Linked DNA regions of Homo sapiens: all the other regions are linked to region 3. Evidence: promoter capture Hi-C in 16 types of primary human blood cells and fetal thymus (Javierre and others, 2016). All regions are on one chromosome and are shown on one strand. The core of a region is centred on a gene start or on the middle of the fragment in contact, and the rest is flanking DNA. Distances in the headings are between cores, read along the strand shown. Region 1 overlaps BZW1-AS1 (BZW1 antisense RNA 1). Region 2 holds the start of NOP58 (NOP58 ribonucleoprotein). Region 3 holds the start of TRAK2 (trafficking kinesin protein 2). Region 4 holds the start of KCTD18 (potassium channel tetramerization domain containing 18).

Evidence for each region. The method cuts DNA at HindIII sites, captures the fragments that hold promoters and counts their contacts. A CHiCAGO score of 5 or more calls a contact.
Region 1: a fragment that was not itself captured here is called in contact with the fragment with the promoter of TRAK2 in region 3 in 1 of 17 cell types (neutrophils); the score reaches 9.7 in neutrophils.
Region 2: a contact is called between the fragment with the promoter of NOP58 here and the fragment with the promoter of TRAK2 in region 3, in 1 of 17 cell types (fetal thymus). The highest score is 7.0, in fetal thymus.
Region 4: a contact is called between the fragment with the promoter of KCTD18 here and the fragment with the promoter of TRAK2 in region 3, in 7 of 17 cell types (monocytes, fetal thymus, non-activated CD4 T cells and 4 more). The highest score is 11.6, in monocytes.

Annotation. Positions count from the first base shown.
Region 1 is chr2:200,804,352-200,807,170 of GRCh38, forward strand. The region is part of intron 1 of BZW1-AS1 (BZW1 antisense RNA 1); the gene reads right to left. Among named protein-coding and RNA genes, the nearest start is that of BZW1, 6.1 kb to the right of the region's middle. The HindIII fragment of the contact is 4,582 bases long and covers 1-2,819 here.
Region 2 is chr2:202,264,266-202,267,098 of GRCh38, forward strand. It overlaps NOP58 (NOP58 ribonucleoprotein), which reads left to right and starts at 1,498. Exons shown (of 15, transcript NM_015934.5): 1 at 1,498-1,721. The coding sequence starts at 1,677. The HindIII fragment of the contact is 14,423 bases long and covers 1-2,637 here.
Region 3 is chr2:201,450,026-201,452,799 of GRCh38, forward strand. TRAK2 (trafficking kinesin protein 2) reads right to left here and starts at 1,433. Exons shown (of 16, transcript NM_015049.3): 1 at 1,325-1,433. STRADB (STE20 related adaptor beta) reads left to right here and starts at 1,715. Exons shown (of 12, transcript NM_018571.6): 1 at 1,715-1,913. RefSeq lists enhancers at 788-1,642, 1,046-1,575 and a silencer at 1,606-2,285. The HindIII fragment of the contact is 1,586 bases long and covers 975-2,560 here.
Region 4 is chr2:200,508,784-200,511,848 of GRCh38, forward strand. KCTD18 (potassium channel tetramerization domain containing 18) reads right to left here and starts at 1,285. Exons shown (of 7, transcript NM_152387.4): 1 at 845-1,285. RefSeq lists a silencer at 1,058-1,517. The HindIII fragment of the contact is 2,465 bases long and covers 1-1,751 here.

The DNA of each region.
Region 1 (2,819 bases), core at 143-2,642, 650 kb before region 3:
TCCACTACTGACCAGATTGTCACACAGTGATCTCAGGCAATTAGGCAATTGATGAACACAGCAATTGGCAGGTCCTCTTCATAAATATCCACAGCCCCCACTAAAAGTTAGAGATAAGTCAAACATCTCACATGACAGATTCACTCTGAATGGACACAACAGACTGACGGCAGAATCATCTAGCCCTCTGGGAGGAGAGTACTGAGAACCAATAGCAATCCACACCTGAAGGCTGCTGCCAGCATCGCTTGCTGGATTCCTCCACCTTCCTCGGATGAGGTTCATAGAGCAAGTGTAAAGTCTCTAACCAACCACGTATCTTATTTCTAACATCCACTATACCAAGGAACAAAACCTTAAAATGGACTCTTGGAAAATTAGTTGAAATGTGTAGGTAACCAATTTTGAAGTGTGGATTCATGATTTGGATTCATCAAATGCTAATTAACTACACCTAGAGTGCAAGTTGATGCTACCTAGGGTGTAGAAAAAAGTTACCTTATGTTTAAATATATCATATAGTTTACACTAAATTTCTTAAGCATTTTAAAGTGAATTACCACATAGAAAGCAGAACATAGGTGAAGACCAAACTCCTTAGGATGGGCTCTTAGCCCTTCTCAAGCTAACCCCCTCTTCATCTTTGCCATCCCTGTCCCAACATACACATACACAGATACACATACACCCTACACCACACACAGCAAGCTGCTCCCTGCTCTAGAATGTGACAGCTACATTTCAGGCTGCTCCACATGCTGCTCCTACCTCCCTCTTCCCCATCTGACCAACCTCTTCTCTTCTGCCAAGACCTACCTCAAATGCTTCCTATTCCAAATCTTTTGGGAACCCCTTCCTTCTCAGCCCTGTGGAGTTGGTCACTCCCTTTTCCATATTCTAATAGCACCTTGTATGATACATTCGTGGTGGTATTGTACCATGTCCCTCACTGGACAGTGCATGTCACAAGCACCATGACTATCTTTGGGCCTCCATTACAGCACACCAGGCACATAAGGAAAAGCAGAGTCCTTCCTAAAGAGTTCTCACCAAAAGCGTTTCTCAAAGGCAATTAAATCTGTTGCTTGTACATTGTTCTTCCTAGGCAAGAAATTCTTAAAATTTCTGAAGTCATGAAACCCCAATGTTCTTAATGGTATTTTATAGCCCTTTTTACCTGGTGATACGGTTTGGATGTTTCTCGCCTCCCAAATCTCATGTTGAATGTATTTCCCAATGTTGGTGGGAGGTGATTGGATCGTGGAGGCGGATCCCTCATGAGTGCTTTAGCACCAACACTTTGGTAATAAGTAAGTTCTCACTCTGAATTCCCGTGAGATCTGGTTGTTTAAAAGTGTGTGGCACCTCCCACCTCACTCACACTTGCTCCCACTCTCACTATGTGATGTCCCTGCTCCCACTTCACTTTCTGCCATGATTGTAAATTTCCCAAAGCCCTCACCTGAAAGCAAATGCTCGTGCCACACTGGCACAGCCTGCAGAACCATAAGCCAATTAAACCTCTTTTCTTTATAAATTACGCAGCCTCAGGTATTTCTTCTTCTTCTTCTTTTTTTTTTCTGAAACAGAGTCTCACTCTGTTGCCCAGGCTGGAGTGCAGTGGCGTGATCTCAGCTCACTGCAACCTCTACCTCCTGGATTCAAGCGATTCTTCTGCCTCAGCCTCCCCAGTAGCTGGAAATATAGGTGCGTGTCACCACGCCTGGCTAATTTTTTGTATTTTCAATAGAGACAGGGTTTCACCGTGTTAGCCAGGATGGTCTCCATCTCCTGACCTCATGATCCGCCTGCCTTTGCCTCCCGAAGTGCTGGGATTACAGGCCTGAGCCACCGCACCAGCCTCAGGTATTTCTTTATAGAAACACAAGAACGGCCTAACACGCTTAGGTTCTGAAAGTTCTTCGTGGCATTTAGGTATTGAAAAATGTGAGTTGAATTCAAAGCACAGGTATAGAGAACTAACAGAGAATTTCATTTCAGCACTTACTATAACTAGTCACCTAGTGCTAAGGATCTCTGTGCTGGGCAAGCCTTATTGTATAAAGTTCTCTGATGCTAAAGCCTTCTATACTGGTTAAGTTCTGGAAAATGAAACTGCTTTTTTAAAGAAAACTAATTTTATCCCAGAAAGATCTGGGAAATCTTCCAAGACTGCTTTTTAAGAGTAGGACCTGAAATGTATCATTAGAAAAAAGGTTCCACTTTTTCTTATCAGATAAATTGACATTAAGTTTACTTAATGGTAGTCCATGGCCTTGTTCTGGAAGACTAATAATCATCAATTCTATCTATAGTTAGCTTGCTTTGAAAGCAAGGCAGCCTTACTTTCTCACAAAGTTTCTGTGAAGAATTATAAAATGCATGTGAAAATATTTTGTAAACAGTAACATCCTCTATAAATTTAAGGTCTACTGTGACCACTCTATTACTACTAATAGTAGTACATACCAAGTAATAGCAGTAGTACTACTAATAATAGCAATAAGGCAGTGATTAAGTTCTATTTAGTTTAGTTGCTTTTTCATCTTAAATAAAAACTTTCCATCAGCTGGGCGCGGCAGCTCACACCTGTAATCCCAGCACTTTGGGAGGCTGAGGCCGGCGGATCACTTGAAGTCAGGAGTTTGAGACCAGCCTGGCCAACATGGTGAAACCCCGTCTCTACTAAAAATACAAAAATTAGCCAGGGGTGGTGGCACGCACCTGTAATCCCAGCTACTCAGGAGGCTGAGGCAGGAGAATCGCTTGCACCCGGGAGGCGGAGGTTGCAGTGAGTGAAGATCGCACCACTGCACTCC
Region 2 (2,833 bases), core at 248-2,747, 810 kb after region 3:
GAAACTCCGTCTCAAAAAAAACAAAGAAGAAAAAGAAAAAAAAAAAGACATTCTAAATTCATACCCTGGGGTCATTTTAACAAATGCAGCAAAAATAGGAGAGGCTTATTGAAAGAAAACTGTGCTAATAATTCATTTGGCCAGACAGAAGGGAACGGCCAGGAATGCTCACAAATATAGTGACAGTAATGGTGTCATTCTGAGGCCTTCGCCTCAAGGCAGGGCTTGAAAGGGGATAAAGTCTAATGGCACTAGCTGGCATTTCAAATTCTAGATGCCTGAGGCAGACTGGCACCGAAACAGCTCCTCGTTTCTCTCAAAGTGAACATATAATTCATAGAGGGTTAACAAAATAATATCGTGAAGTTTTTCCCCTTTAAATCTCTAGCGGTGGCGGGGCGCGGTGGCTCACGCCTGTAATCCCAGCACTTTGGGAGGCCGAGGTGGGAGGATCCCTTGAGGTCAAGAGTCCGAGACCAGCCTGGGCAACATCGTGAAACCCTGTCTCTACAAAAAATTAGCTGGGTGTGGTGGCACAGGCCTGTAGTCCCAGCTGCTCCGGAGGGTGAAGTGGGAGGATCGCTTGAGCCTGGGAGTTGGAGGTTGCAGTGAGCCGTGATAGTGCCACTGCACTCCAGCTTGGGCAACAGCCAGACTGTCTCAAAAAAAAAAAAAAAAAAAAAAAAAAAAAAAAAAAAGGCCGGGCCTAGTGGGTCACGCCTGTAATCCCAGCACTTTGGGAGGCCGAGGCGGGCGTATCACGAGGTCAAGAGATCGAGACTATCCTGGCCAACATGCTGAAACCCCATCTCTACTAAAAATACAAAAATTAGCTGGGCGTGGTGGTGTGTGCCTCTAGTCCCAGCTACTGGGGAGGCTGAGGCAGGAGAATTTCTTTTTTTTTTTTTTTTTTTGAGACGGAGTCTCGCTCTGTCGCCCAGGCTGGAGTGCAGTGGCAGGATCTTGGTTCACTGCAAGCTCCGCCCCCTGGGTTCAGGCCATTCTCCTGCCTCAGCCTCCCGAGTAGCTGGGACTACAGGCGCCTGCAACCACACCCGGCTAATTTTTTGTATTTTTAGTAGAGACGGAGTTTCACCGTGTTAGCCAGGATGGTCTCGATCGATCTCCTGACCTTGTGATCCGCCCGCCTCGGCCTCCCAAAGTGCTGGGATTACAGGCGTGAGCCACTGCGCCCGGCTAGGAGAATTTCTTGAACCCGGGAGGCGGAGGTTGCAGTAAGCCGAGATCACACCACTGCACTCCAGCCTGGGTTACAGAGCGAGACTCCGTCTCCAAAAAAGAAAAAAAGAAAAAAGAAAAAAAGGCGCAAAGGCTCCGTTCAGGCCCTAGATCCCGCGATACAAACTTTCTCGGCCCGCCCCAGCCCGCTGTGGCGGGAACATTCTGGAAGTGACGGCAATCTCTGCGGCAGTCTTCTGTCGGAAGTGACGTTGCTATCCCAGAATCCTCAGAGAAGGAGTAGCGCGTTCGTGCGTCCTAGTTCCAGTACAGCGTGGAGGGTTTAGGCAGCGTGTTCTGATTCTTTGCGGGACGGCGAGCGCATTTGTGCTTTGCCCGCCGCGGCCTAGGAGGCCTTTTGAGGCCGCGTAGTCGGTGTTTTTGAACTGACTCTACAGCTTCTGGCAGGCCGTGCGGCGCCCTGACCCGGCCTCACCATGTTGGTGCTGTTTGAAACGTCTGTGGGTTACGCCATCTTTAAGGTAGGTGGGAGAGCGAGCCGTTAAAGGGGGAAGGCGGATGCTGGACAGACGAGGAGAGGGAAAGACTTAAGCACGGAACTACTCAGAGTAGCGTGGGTGCCTGTTATAGCCCGGGCTCTGGGAGGAGGGAGAAGGCCTTTACACCTGAGAGCCATGTTACGTGTAACACGTGGCCCCGCCGTTTGGGGAGACCCGTTCTGCATTAGAGGATTTTATTTCCTCCCGTTGAAGGGGTGGGCAGGAGGCGTGTTAGAATTTAACAGATTATAGGGAATTCGGACTTTATTCTAGATGTTTTGAGGAATGATCGAAAGATTTTTTTTTTTTTTGAGATGGAGTTTCGCTCTTGTTGCCCATGCTGGAGTGCAGTGGCGCAATCTTGGCTCACTGCAACCTCCGTCTCCCGGGTTCAAGCGATTCTCCTGCCTTGGCCTCCCGAGTAGCTGGGATTACAGGCCTCCATCCACCACCACGCCTGGCTAGTTGTTTTTGTTTGTTTGTTTGCTTTTAGTAGAGACGGGGTTTCACCATGTTGGCCAGGCTGGTCTTGAACTCCTGACCTCAAGCGATCCACCTGCCTCGGCCTCCCAAAGTGCTGGGATTACAGGCGTGAGCCACCGTGCTCGGCCAATCGAAAGGATTTAAGCAGAGGAATGACCTGCTAATTTGTCTTAATACGGTTACTCTGCTGTGTGGAGATTAGACTCGAGGAGATAAGAACGGCAGCAAGAATACTTTTGCATTCATTTGGACAAGATGAAATTGCCTGGTATGGAGAGAAACAAATATCGATAGAAATTGTGAAGGTAGAACAGGAAGGACTGGCTAATAGATTGAATGTGGGGTTTTGGTTTAAATAAGATGTTAAGAAAGTTTCTTGGGGAAGGACTAAAGATTTCCGGTTTGGGCTGTGCGAAGCTTGCGTTGTCTATTAGACCTGATAATGCAGTTGTGTAGATCGGGCAGTTCAGTATTTCAGATTTGAAGCTTAGGGGAAAACATCTGGGCTGGTGATGTCAGTTTGAGGTTTGGTTGTTTTCGTGGGGAAAGTTTGACAAGTTCGTCAGCACTGAAATGGTTGAATGGTAAGACATTCGTATCGCAAGATGCTG
Region 3 (2,774 bases), core at 183-2,682:
CATATGAATAAGTGTGTAAGATAACAAAACACTGTCTTTCACATGGTATGTGCTTGCTAAATGTCTGAGACTTGCTGGACATTACTTAATTTTAAAAATAGAAAACTGGAGCTGGGTGTGGCGGCTCACGTCTGTAATCCCAGCACTTTGGGAGGCCAAAGCGGGTGGATCATGAGGTCAAGAGATCGAGACCATCCTGGCCAACATGGTGAAACCCCATCTCTACTAAAAACACAAAAATTAGCTGGGCGTGGTGGTGCGCGCCTGTAGTCCCAGCTACTCTGCAGGCTGAGGCAGGAGAATCGCTTGAATCCGGGAGGCGGAGGTTGCAGTGAGCCGAGATCACCCCACTGCACTCCAGCCTGGCGACAGAGCGAGACTCTGTCTTAAAAAAAAAAAAGAAAAGAAAGTTGGAATAACTGCTAGGATGATAAAATGTCTTCATCCCTGACCTTTCTCACCTCCAAATGTCCTTCACAATTTGTTTTTAAGTGTCATGTCACCACCATTAACCTGCTATTTGGAGACTACTGTACCTCAGACTTCCAAGTCAACAGCAAAGATCTAAAGGTCGGGAAGATTTACGGAGACCAAGAACTGAAAGTGTTCCTTTTGTTCCTATGGTCCATTCCATCAACTTGATGAATATCCTGTGAAGTTACCTTTTTTTTTTTTTTTTCTGACGTAGAAACAGCAGGTCTAAGCAAAAGGTGCATGAGCAAGAGCAAGTAACATCCCTATTATTATGACGCAGATTTTTTTTTAAGTTGAAATTCAATTTTTGGGCTGCTACTAAAAAGGACATGTGCGAATATCTATTATTTACGCTTCAAACTAAAGTCAGCCGTTTTTCTTTTTCAAGATATGTGGCATCTGGCTCAAAATCAATTGCAAGAAAAGCCCAACTCTATTTGACCCAGAAAGAGCTCTTTCCAATACCCTCTCCTCCCACTTACATCACAGATGGCGACTGAAGCTTAAGGTTTAATGCCCGACCCTAAAGCCACTCATCCTAAAAGACAGGGCTCCAGATGGATGCTGTATGGCAGAGGATAAGGCGCTATGAGAAGCTGCCAAGCCTCAGATGTGCAGCTGGGCTGAATACCGACGCCAGCGCCTAGCGCCCATTACTTTGCACCCACACTTAGGAAACAACCCACGCCTCACCGCGGGACCCGGACCCAGCCCTCCAGCACCCAGCCTCCGGCTCCGACGTCCGCGCGTGACCTCCGGGTACCGGAGGACCTTGGGACGAGGAGGTCCCTCCGCTTTCCGGGGAAGTTGTCAAGGGCAAGTTCGGGTTCTGCGCGGACAGCTTACTCACTGGAGTGGTTCGGCATCCTCTGTCGTCCGCCCGCGCTTCCTCAGGAAGCCCCTAATGCAGCGGCAGCCTGAAAGCAGCAGCCGAAGCTGCTGCCGCTGCTCCCACTGCCAGCAACCGCCCGGGCGTGGCAGGGACAGGCGGGCGACTTCACAACATCATCACTCGGCGACCTCGGTTCTGCGGCGACACCGGGTCAATGGCAGCCCCCACACAATTGGGGAAGCCAAAGGAGAGCCACTCTCCCAGCGGCCTCCACGGCCCCAGCGCAAGACCTGCTGGGAATTGTAGTTTCCTGCCCGCCCCGCCTCAAGCTCGAAGGCCCCGCCTTCTCGCTGCCCAGCCCCGGGGAGGGAGGCGGGGCCGCGACCCCGGCGCGGGTGGGGCGAATGCGTTCCCAGCGGGTAGCCTGGGACTGGTGCAGAGTTCCAAGCCCACGGCCCCGGTCGCGGCCTCGCCGCCCTCCCGCGCCCCGCGCCGGGAGCGGGCCTAGAGCGCTCGCCTCGCCCCTCCGCGAGCAGGGCTCTGGCGCCCGCCCCTGTCCGCACCGCTGGCAGCCTGAAGAGAGTCGCTGGCCGTGGTCGCCGCTAGGGTAAAGACGGGAGGCAGGCCCGGGAAGGGAAGGTGTCGGGGCCGGTGGGGGACGTGTGAGGGAGTGAGCCTTGGTCCGCGCACGCCCGGGAAGCCAGAGGCCAGAACGCGCTAGCCCACCTCCAGCCCGAGCACCGGCGGCTGGCGGGAGCCGTGGCAAGAATGCGGCCCGAGGTGGCGAGCAGCCACTGCGCCAGTGCAGCTCGGGCTCAGCGGGGCCCGGGCCGCGGGTTCGCAGCCCGCCCAGTGGTGCCTGCCGGGTTGGCCGTGCCGGCCGTGCCAGGTGCGCGGGGCCCAGGCCGCCCGGGCGCCCTCTCCCCGCACCCCTCACCTTTGGCCGCGCTCTCGGGCTTGGGGAGTTGCCATATCGAAGACACCCTCAGACCCCAGCTCTATCTGCCGCCTTCTGCAAGTTCGCTGCAAAGTCCCCCATAGCAGGACTAGGAAGGAACCTTTTACAAAATTAAATACTCGAGTGTCGTTTTGTCTTCGGTTTTTCAATTCAACGCTGTGTTTTTCCCTGCTGGGTCTTTGTCAAGTACCTTTTCCCCAAAACTTGATACGGATGTGTAACACGGCGCCTGCTTAGCACGGTGCCTGGCACCCAGTAGGCGCTCAGTAAAGATTTGTTGAACGCATGAGTCACTAAGCTTGGAAAATTCTCCTGAACTGTGCGTCGCTATGATCTTTGTTAAGATTTTATGGGTTCCCAAGATCACTTTGAAAATTACAGTAATTTTAAAGCTCAACAAAGAGTTACATCGGGTCATTTTTGCATTCCCTGTAACAGTGGCCTCTGTTGAATGCCTAAATTAACTCAAAACCCGTGTTCTAGAAGATGCGCCCTTTGGTTTCTACAGAA
Region 4 (3,065 bases), core at 35-2,534, 940 kb before region 3:
GAGCAGCACTCCAAAGATCCATGTGTGAGAGCCACCTCTGAGGCATGGGATGGAACTTGTTCCCTCTGCCTCATTACTGGCTCCCTGGAATCCTATCTATTCTTCAAGGCCTTCAGCAAACCTAATTTCTTGCATGACCGTCCCACGTATCCTTCTGCCCCCCAAGTTAGAATCCTTGCACAATTCTACAAATATACTGTGTGTCTGTCCACTTTTTACCCCACTTGTTTAATCCCTACTTTTTGGTCTGTAGGCCAAGGAAGCCAGGGCCTGTGTCACTCTTAATAACTCCCATTTACTGAATGCTTATTATGTGCCAGCCATTGTAAGAGACACTTGACACACTTTACCTAATTCACACAAAAACTCTATTGGATGGGAATTACTGTCCCTGTTGACAGATGAGGCCATTGGGGTAAAAAAAAAGAGTGATGTGTACAGGGGCCACACAAGGACTGACTGCTAGTAGGTTGTGGAGCCAGCCCCAATCCAGAACGGCAGGACGAACCCCAAGTTCTTCCTGCTTCACCCCACACCGCCTCCTCCAGCACTGTTTCACCCCTATGGATCCTGACCCAGCCCTTTCACTCTCTAAGCATCTGTCCATCTCAAGACTTGGCTACGATAACACAGCAGCACCCCGATCCCGAGGATTTAAGAGCTACTCCTCCTACCCCAACCCCAGGCAGTCTCTCCTAAGGATAGGAACATCATCATTCCAAGGCCACACCAGGGGGGCACTCCGCAGGCCCCATCCTCAAAAGCACCCAGTTAGGCTCCCTGCTATGTGGAAAGTGTCCAGCCCTCGGGGACAATGTCCCCCAGAGTGCATTCCTATGATCACCTGCATCAAAACCATCAGGGACGCTTGGGAAAACGAAGACACTCCGGCCACAGCACACAGTTCCTCAGAAAGTCTGAGGAGGGGTCGGGATCTGCCCGCGAACCCCACTTTGAAAAACATCGCTCAAGGGGCTCACACTCCTCTTCCGAAGCGGGAAGAGCCGGGAGGAGCTGGGGAGCCAGAAAGCCCCGCCACGGTCTTCCGCGGCCTGGAGACCCCAAATCGGCCCGAAGCCCGAGCCTGCAGCCCGGGGCGCGCGCGTTACCAGCGCGGCCCGTGCCCTTCCTCAGGGCGCCCCGCCGCCTTCCGGGCCCGCGGCCCATCCCGCGCCCGGCTCTTCCGCACCGGGGGGGTGGGGCGGGTCGGCAGCTTCCCAGACTGACCTGCGGCCCGCCAGACCCTCGGCGCGGCCGCCGGACGCCGCGGGGCGGACGCGGAAGTGAACGCCTTCTCAGCTGCTCGGCAACTCGGGAGCAGAGCGGCCCCAGCGGCGCCCCCGTGCGGCCCGGCTCTGAGGCAGCGGCTCAGGGAGGGAGGGAGGCCACGTCCCGGGCACGCCACGCCACGCCACGCCCCGCCCCCAGATTCGTCTCGCCCCAGTGGGCCGCCTCGGAGTCGGGTGGGTCTTCCATCCCGGAGGTAAGGGAAACACACGGTAGAGAAGGCCAGGGCTGAACCCCAAGGGACGGTCTTGTGTGTTCAGAGGCTGGTTTTACAGGTGAAGAGAAGAAACAGCCGCAGAAGTTGCGATTGTCCAAGGTCACTTAATAAGTGGCAAGAATTAGGATGTTAAGTGTTCTCACCCCCAGGTCAGTGCCCATCCCTCCAAACAGGGCTGCTCAGTGCCAACGTGTGTTAATATATTGCACTTGGATAAGTCTATCTGGATAGTGTCTGCAGCTTACAAAGCTTTTTCACACACAGCATTCTTGTTTAGTCTGTGTGACAGTGATATAAAGGGTGATATTTATTTCCCATTATAGCAAGGAAAATTGAGGCGAGAGCAAACATTTATTCAACACTTTTGTACACCTGACACTGTGCTAAGTGCTTTGCATGCACTACTTAATTTCCTGTTAACGATAACCCTAAAACAGTTCTTCCAGTTTCTAGCACCATCTTACCTTGTGCAAGGTACTGTGCTAGATATTTCAAGAGAAATATAACAGTCCTGTTTTCAAGGTGCTTCCCCAAAATCAAAAATATTTGGTTCCAAATTTCCCTGACTGGCTCTTAGAAGAGAATAAGCCAAAGAGAGGTAAGTCAACCTATCCCCTTAGATATTAACAGTCTTAGGAGAGAGGGAAGGTTTGTTCAACCTGTAATTATTAAGCACTAGCTATGGAGCAAGCACTGAGAGTAAAGGACTGGAAGAGACAAATAATGGGCGTTCAACCTTACTTTCCAGTACAACATGCAGAAAACTTGTTCTGTAAATATTTTAGGCTTTGTGGGCCATGCACAACTACTCAACTCAGCAGTTGTAGTCTAAAAGAAGGCATAGGCAAAACCTGAACAAATGAGCATTGCTAGTTCCAACTTTATGGACACTGAAATTCCAATTTCACATAATTTTCATGTGTCAAAAAATATTCTTTTAAAAATGCAGCTTTTTCAAACACTTAAATATGTACAAGCCATTCTTAGATCATGGGCCAGACAAAAACAAATGGTGGTCCATGGGCCATAGTTTGCCTGCCCTTGTTCAAGTGGGAGAAACAGACACTAAGCAAAGTGGTGACAGAGAGTGATAACTAGGTGCGAGGAAATGAGTGGACATTTAAGTTGAGGGCTAGGAGTCAGAATGAGTCCACCTTCTGCAGAGATGGAGGAAGGGTATTTTAGGAAGAAGGGAGAGCAAGTCGGAAGCCCCTCAGGCAGGAAAGGACTCAGCAATTTGTAGGAAGAGAAAGGCCACTAGTATGTCTGAGCCTTGGTGGGCATCAGGACAAAGGGGAAGATGAGATGGGATGAGGTTGAAGAGAGAGGCAAGAGCCCAGACTCTAAAGTATTGTGTGGCCATGGTAGAAATTTAATTTGACTGTAAGCATAATGAGAAGCTATTGAAAGGTTTTAAGCAGGGAAGTGACACAATTGATTTACTATTAAAAAAAAATAATCACTGCAGCTACTGAGATGAGAATGGATTGGAAAGGTGTGAGATGGAAGTAGATGACTATTGCAATAATCCAGGGGAGAAATGTCTTAGTTCCTCCTTGAG